2 separate regions of the Homo sapiens genome follow, and region 1 is linked to region 2. Evidence: promoter capture Hi-C in 16 types of primary human blood cells and fetal thymus (Javierre and others, 2016). All regions are on one chromosome and are shown on one strand. The core of a region is centred on a gene start or on the middle of the fragment in contact, and the rest is flanking DNA. Distances in the headings are between cores, read along the strand shown.

Region 1 (3,703 bases), core at 1,056-3,555, 190 kb after region 2:
CTATTAAAATGAAAAACATTTGCCCTGCAAAAGGCCCTGTTAAGACCATCTCCAGAATGGGAGAAAATATTTTCCAACCACATATCAGACAAATAGCTCATGTCTAAAATATATATAGAATCCTCAAAATTCAACATTTAAAAAGAAAACAAAACAAACAAACAAAAAACAACCAATTCAGTTAAAAAATAGGAAATGACTTGAAGAGACATTTCATGGAAGAGGATTTTTCAAATGGCAAATGAGCACATGAAAATATATTCAATGTCACTAGCTACAAGGGAAAGGCAAATTAAGACCATGATAAGATATTATCACATATGTATCATAATAGTTAAAACAGTAAAAATAGTGGCAATACCAAATTCTGACAAGGATGTGGAAAAATCTAGATATCTCATACTTTGCTATCTAGTTTGGGGAATGTAACATGGCATAGCCACTCTGAAAAGAGTATAGCAGCCTCTTAAAAACCAAGCACGCACCATATGTGTTAGTCAGGGTTCTCCAGGAAAAAGAGCCAACAGGATAGATAGTGCTGGCCTGGGCCACCAAGATTTTTTAACAGTCACCTTCCAACCCTGCCCCAAGTGATTCCATGAGCAGCTAAGATTAAGAACCACTGCCCAGGGGAGACTTGGATTTTGTATGCAAAACAATTACTCCATGTGGTCCTACAATTTAGGCAAATTTGAAAGATACCCTTGTCTCTACCATCTGACATACCACCCACACTCAGCACTTGGCCAGCTCTGGGAACCCCTTGTATTCTTCTGGCTTTGAGAGAAATTGTTGAATGTAAGGTATGAGTCCTGCTGAAATCTGGGCCGTTCCTACTTCTTGGCTGAATATTTTGTCTGAGCTGGCCCCACATTGGCTCAAGTAAAGTCTTCAAAATTATTAATATATTTTGTGCCTCAGCTTCCTCAGCTGTAAAATGAGAAAGACACTCATCTTGCAGAGTTGAGTGCTTTAGATGTGATGTTGGTCAATGATTGCCATTTTGTAGAAGCTTAACAAATGGTAGCCATTATTTTGAAAAAAAAAAAAAAAATAGGATATCATTGAAATCAGCAGCAGCAAAGTTAAAAGACAGAATTGTGGCTCCTGTTTAGTTCACATATTTCCCTGGGAAGGAGGAAAGTTTCTATGCTGGGGCATAGAAAACAAGGGGCTATACCTCAATGGTCCCAAACTGACCTTATCAGGTTGGCCTTCTTGATAGTTTCACTTTCCAGATGCTAGAGAAATTTGCTGTGGGCCACTGCCCTCTATTGAAGTAATATTGTCACTTCTGAGGAAAGAATACTTGGACTTGCCATAGGAGAAGTCAAGGATTGCACTTGAATTTCATCTCACTGGGGTAAAGCTGACCCCTGTGTGAGCACTGAGAGAGAAAAGAAACTTTTTATGTGAGGAATACAAACCCCTTTAATATATCCAGCCCAGAAAGGCTTTGGAGTAAAAAGCTGTCACATCTCAGTCCCTGCTTGAGCTAAGTAGTTACCTCTTGAAGCCACTTGCTGTGGGCTCTGGACTAACTGATGCCACGTAGCTATAAAATGCCATATACCATAATCATGGATGCCACAACTCATATCCTCTAGCTCAGGGGTCCTCAACCTCTGGGACGCAGACCAGTTAGGAACTAGGCTGCACAGCAGGAGGTAAGCAGTGGGCAGGCAAGTGAGCAAAACTTTATCTGCTGCTACCCATTTCTAGTATTACCACCGGAGGTCCTCCTCCTGTCAGATCAGCAGCAGTATTAGATTCTCATAGAAGTGCAAACCCTATTGTGAACTGTGCATGCGAGGGACCTAGGTTGCATGCTCCTTACGAAAATCTAATTCCTAATGATCTGCCACTGTCTCCCATCACCTCCAGATGGGACCATCTAGTTGCAGGAAAACAAGCTCAGGGCTCTTACTGATTCTACATTATGGTGAGTCATGTATTTCATTATATATTACAATGTAACAATAATAGAAATAAAGTGCACAATAAATGTAATGCACTTGCTTCATCCCCAAACCATCTCCCCTACTCCTCCTAGGTCTGTGGAAAAATTGTCTTCCATGAAACTCGTCCCTGGTGCCAAAATTTTGGGGACCACTGCTGTAGCTCAACAACATAAAGCCAATCACTAATCAATGTTATTTCTGCAAACCAATGAGAATTCCTGTCAAATAGCTTTGTATCAGTCCACTCCTTGCTCACTTTTTGTCTTTAAAAACCTGCCTGAATGGATGCAGCTGGAGACAATTATTCTAAGTGAATTAACACAGGAACAGAATACCAAATACCGCACGTTCTCACTTATAAGTGAGAGCTAAACATTAGGCACACAGGGACATAAAGCTGGGAACAACACACATTGGGGACTATTAGAGTGGGGAGAGAAGGAAAGGGGCAAAGACTGAAAAACCACCTATTGGGTACCATGGTCGCTACCTGGCTGATGGCATCATTTGTACCCCAAACTTCAGCATCATGCAATATAGCCATGTAACAAACATGCACATGTAACCCCCTGAATCTAAAATAAAAGTTGAAATTATTTTTTAAAAAGCCTGCTCGCAACAAAGGCTGGATGCGGCACTCCCCAAAGCAACTTGGAAGTGTGTCCTGAGCAGCTGGCCTCATGTTGGCTCAAGTAAAGTCTTCAAAATTATGAATATATTTTGTGCCTCATCTTCTTCCTTTGGGGTCAGCATTTTTGGTGCCATGAGAAGGATTCAGAATAACCCCCTTGGCTCTACTATCTGACTTACCTCCCAGACTCAGCGCCTGGCCAGCTCTGGGAACCTCTTGTATTCTGACTTTGAGAGAAATTGTTGAATGTAAGGTATGAGTCCTGCTGAGATCTGGGCCTTTCCCATTTTTTGGTTGAAGGTCTAGATTTTGCCTGAGCTATGTTTTCCGATCCTCCCTTACTAGAATGGGAGTTTTCCATCTGTGCCTAATGGGCAGGAGATTTGGGTTCCAGAAAAGAAAAAGGGTAGGGGGAACAGCGTTTTTTCACCTCTGCCTTGGGGAAGGGAGGTCTGGGTCCAGGCATTGGCAATTTGACATTGGTGGTTTTGCTTTACATAGCACGCTTTTAAAATTGCAGCTGCTTCCTATTGTTTGAAATTCAGACTTGGATGTTTCATCTGTGACCAATTCCTATTAGTTCTAAACTGAAAAGTGCATGAGAGTGAGTTCTCTTGCTATGGAGAAAGGGCAGTTGCTCACTTTGACCAATTGGAGTGCTCTAGGTGACTGGAGACTTTGCAGAGTTTGCAGAGTCTCTGCAGACTTTGCAGAGGTGTCAAGGCTGTTGTCTAGGATATAAAGGACGCTCGTAGGGTATTCCTCACCACAAGAACGTTTTTTAGGGACTCGATCATCTGCATGGGCATAAAATACGGGACTGATCGCTCATACCTTTAGCACTCTGGTGCCACCTGGTGGTTAGAGGCATTCTGAGACAACGTAAGAGAGCAACTCATGACTTTTGGGTGACACCTAGAGGAGCAGTGCTCGTAAGCACCACACTTCCACCCAAACACATCCTGGGCCTTGGTCATTTTTAAGAAGTTCCTAAGTTACGGGAAATCAAGCTTGAAAATCTGAGCGCTCTTTTAAGGGACAACCATTGTTAGAAACACCATCTGGTTTTATGTACAACACTTATGAGACATCCTCTTGTAAATATCTAGGA
Region 2 (4,047 bases), core at 1,362-3,861:
CCTTGGAACCAGAAAGGTGGCTCAGTGACAAATGAATGTGCTGCACTCCACGCCATTCTGGGGTAGGTTGGGTCCTGAAGAAATCCTGAGATCTGAGCAGGTCTGACAACTGGGGCTCGCAGGAACAGAGCTCAGCCTCCTTGGGCACCACAGAGGGCACTCAGCCTCTAGAGAACCTCCATCTCTTCCCTCAGAGTATGCTTATAGTGCCCTGTCCTCCAGAACTCACCTTTGGCAGGGTGAGAATGCAAGAGAGAAATAGCCCTTAGAAAAGGGGACCAGCAACCTTTTATAGTCACCCAGCTCTGAATTCTAGTTGCAAAGAAAGAAACACAGCAAAGAAAACAAGAGGATAGGGCTTTTTTCAGGAATGGACCTAAACTAGATTGCAGCAAAGGGAGTCACATTTGCACAAGCTCCTTTGAGAAAGCGGAAGTTCTCTCTATGACTTCCTTGCGTCTTCCCTTCTCCCCAGCCTCATGATCCTCTCTGCATCCCAGGAGAGGGCATGTGAGTGCTCTAGAGCAGCTCTTCCAGACCTGGATGGAAGAACCTACCTAAGCTTCCCCACCTCACCTGGACCACGGGGACCCGTGCAGAGGAGGGAATCTTCCCACACCGGTGCATTTACCCCTTCTCCTCTTCCCTGACGGCCAGCCTCACCTTCCTTCCTCCCCCGAGACTCACTCCAACGTCTAGGGGCAAGCAGTGTCTACCTTGTATGCTCTTACCTGATGAGGAAACAGCCTGAGTCAAGAGAAGGGAGAAGCACAGGCTTTTCCTCACCCATGGCAATTGCAATAGTGCGTGTCTCACCTCGCTGCAAGCTTTCCAAGGACGCAATCAAACACGGGGGAGAAACAAATTCAGCCAAGAAAGTCAAGTAAGGGAACATCTTCTTCCCTCTAGCACCAGTTCCTTTTGTGTCTTTATTTGCCAAGTGAGAGGGAGGAGTGAGATGCCAGAGCATCTGGCTGGTTCTCAGCTATGTATAGTTTCAGACACCATTTATTTGCAATGAGCGCCCGCCGAGGGAAGGGAATTTCACGGCTCCCTCGCACCGCCGTTCCTTAAGGCTGATGAATCAGACACCTCTTTCGTTCTTACTGTGCATGCCCTCTACCTTTCAGATGACCTATTTGTTGGCCTTTTTCCATTTAGACAATAAACCCAAGTGCACCTTCTGCATCCCTTTGCTCTACGGGAACTGAGGGTGATGAAGGGGACATGCGCCTGGGAGTACCACGCCATGACAGAGCGGCATTGAGTCCTCGGGACAATCAATACACCAAGAGGTGGAAATTAACATCCACAAGAGTGTAGTCATGATTTTCCCCCAGAACAAATATATAAAAGGGATCTTTGTCATAACAATGACAGGAAATCATTAATCACATCAGGATTGAAGTCCCCACTGTAGCAGTGGATGGGAAGACTTCGTCTGTGATCTTCATTAAAAATGCAATATTTTGTATATTTAGCTTTTTTCAAAGTTTTACCAAAACACCTGTAATTAATACAATTTATTGTATTATCTTTGTTAATGTATCTGATGTGCAAAACCTTACTAGATTTGCCCCAATTTGAAGGTGTCTGTGGCTTTCCAGCACTCCATGTGTTCCTAGCTACATCTCACAGGCAGACTTTCTAAAGCAGTGCCTTTCAATAGCACTGTTGGCGACGATGGACAGGTTCTGTATCTGCATTGTCCATTGGGATAGCCACTAGCTGCATGTGGCTATTGAGCACTTGAAATGTACCTGGCATGACTGAGAAACTAGTTAACACTTAAAACATTTTTCTTTTTTGATACAGGGTCTCAGTCTGTTGCCCAGGGTGGAGTGCAGTGGTGCAATCTTGGCTCACTACAACCTCTGCCTCCTGATCCTTCCACCTCAGCTTCCCTGAGTATCTGGGACTACAGGCATGGGCCACCATGCCTGCCTAATTGTTTTTGTGTGTTTTGTAGAGATGAGGTTTCACCATGTTGTCCAGGCTGTTCTTGAACTCCTAGGCTCTGCCTAGTGATCTGCCCGCCTCAGTCTCTCAGAGTGCTGGGACTACAGAGGTGAGCCACTGCACTGGCCCTAGTTAGCATTTTAATTAATTTGAATTTAAATAGGCACATCTGCCTAGTAGCTACTGTGTTGGATAGCACAGCCCTCCGGGTTCTGGTACGTCTGTCAAGGCCAGAAAAGGTATGTTGCGATGGATAGTGCTACATCTGCCACTGGGTGGTAATCTGATACAGGCCTGCTCAGGTGACACCACCTAAAGAAATCTCATCAGTGTGCACCTCTGGCAAGCCTGACAAGGCTGACTTCTCTCGATGGGATCCTCCAATTTCCCCATTCCCTGTAAGCAGCTGTGCTGTCTAGGAAGAGAATTTGCTCTTAGATCATCAGTCTGTATGTGCGTCTTCAGATGAGACAGTTTCCCCTTATCCCAGCAGTTTTCAGCTTTTTGTTTCTGGTTGCAAATGATTGACTCCGCTGATTGCTGGAAGCTACACAGGTGACTCCCCACCCTCTTGGGCTACCCCACCAGTGACAACACAGGCAGGGGTGGCCTGGCTTCCTTTCTCGTGTTGTTATCGGGTAGCTGCCTGCTCAGAACCCACAAAGCCTGCCCCTCATCCCAGGCAGAGAGCAACCCAGCTCTTTCCCCAGACACTGAGAGCTGGTGGTGCCTGCTGTCCCAGGGAGAGTTGCATCGCCCTCCACAGTGAGTATTGCTCTTCTTCTTGTTGCCCCCAACCCAGTGTCATCTTGGCCCTCAGTTGTGTGCTGCTATGATGGCTTCTAAAACCTGGGCTTGCACTCATTTGTTCAGAGGTCATGGGCACCAGGCACTTTTCTAGAAACTTCCAGGAAGGTAAATGGGAATTGGTGATGCCCAACCCAGGTTTCTTGTAGGGCGAGTAATAAAACTCCCTCCCCCTTCACATACATGAAGCTTAGGCTTAAGGCAGTCTGTGATTTATACCTTAAAGGAAGGAGAAGCAGGTGCTGGGGGACAAGATGGTGGCCAGGGGTAAAGGACACACCCATGAGGTCCTTGAGTCTGAGACACTGCCCCATGGAAAGGATTCTTTGTAGCAGTGAAAAACTGGAAACAAGGAAACTATGCATCAGGAGGCGAATGGTTAAATGAATTGTGATGTATCTAGACAATGGAATACACAGCAGCCATCCAATTCTATGATACGGTTCTATGTTGAATTGGCATGGAAGGTGATCCATGAAAGATGGGCAATTAGAAAGCAAGATAGAAGATTATATGTGTAGTCTGATTTCCTTTCTATTAAGTGCGTGTGTGTCTGTGTGTGTGTGTGTGTGTGTGTGAGGTTGTGTTACAGAGAAAAAGTCAGAAAGGAAGTATCTCAGAAACTTAACAATGGCTAAACTAGGAAAGGGTGCTTCAGGAGTTTTTATTTTCTATATTATGTATGTTGGCATTTTGGGGATTTTTTGTGCATTGTAAAAATACTCCTTTATGATCAGAGTAAAGCAAAAAGTTATTTTAAATGACTCATCAGTGGATGCTGGTTTGCCTTTTCAAACACACCTACCCTCTTTAGTTCTGAATTAGCTGTTACTCCATAGACGGCTGGCAAGTCCATCCAGAGAGTGGTCACTGTGTGCTGAACCGGAAGGGCTGTGCAGCAGCCAGTCTGTGGGATCCCATCTCCTTACTCCCTTTCCTGAACGAGCAAAAGCTAATTTACTATTTCAGCATCTGGAATTTCGGAGTCCTTTTCTTCCAATATCTGCTTATCTGTTCTGAAGCCTCTTTGTGTAGGCCTCACTCACAGGCTTGTGTTGGGAGCCCCTGGGCCCTGTGCAGCCCCTGCTGGGCGGTTGGCAGGCATCTGATCCAGGCATGGTGAGTGGATGGATCTGATAGATGGCTCAGAGACCCTGCCTCGTGTAGGGAACAAAAAGCAGAGCTATGAAAAAATGTAAGAGATGATTCAAGCTCCGTGTAGCAAATTGTACAAAGTTCAAAGTAAGGACCTGCATTCCTGACTCATGTTAGTATCTGATT

What was found. The method cuts DNA at HindIII sites, captures the fragments that hold promoters and counts their contacts. A CHiCAGO score of 5 or more calls a contact.
Region 1: a fragment that was not itself captured here is called in contact with the fragment with the promoter of CCR9 in region 2 in 2 of 17 cell types (fetal thymus and total CD8 T cells); the score reaches 7.2 in fetal thymus.

Annotation. Positions count from the first base shown.
Region 1 is chr3:46,075,540-46,079,242 of GRCh38, forward strand. It overlaps a transcript of XCR1 not described here. Among named protein-coding and RNA genes, the nearest start is that of XCR1, 50 kb to the left of the region's middle. The HindIII fragment of the contact is 2,590 bases long and covers 1,011-3,600 here.
Region 2 is chr3:45,883,932-45,887,978 of GRCh38, forward strand. It overlaps CCR9 (C-C motif chemokine receptor 9), which reads left to right and starts at 2,612. Exons shown (of 3, transcript NM_031200.3): 1 at 2,612-2,724. It also overlaps a transcript of LZTFL1 not described here and the pseudogene SDHDP4. RefSeq lists a promoter at 1,628-2,627. The HindIII fragment of the contact is 2,128 bases long and covers 826-2,953 here.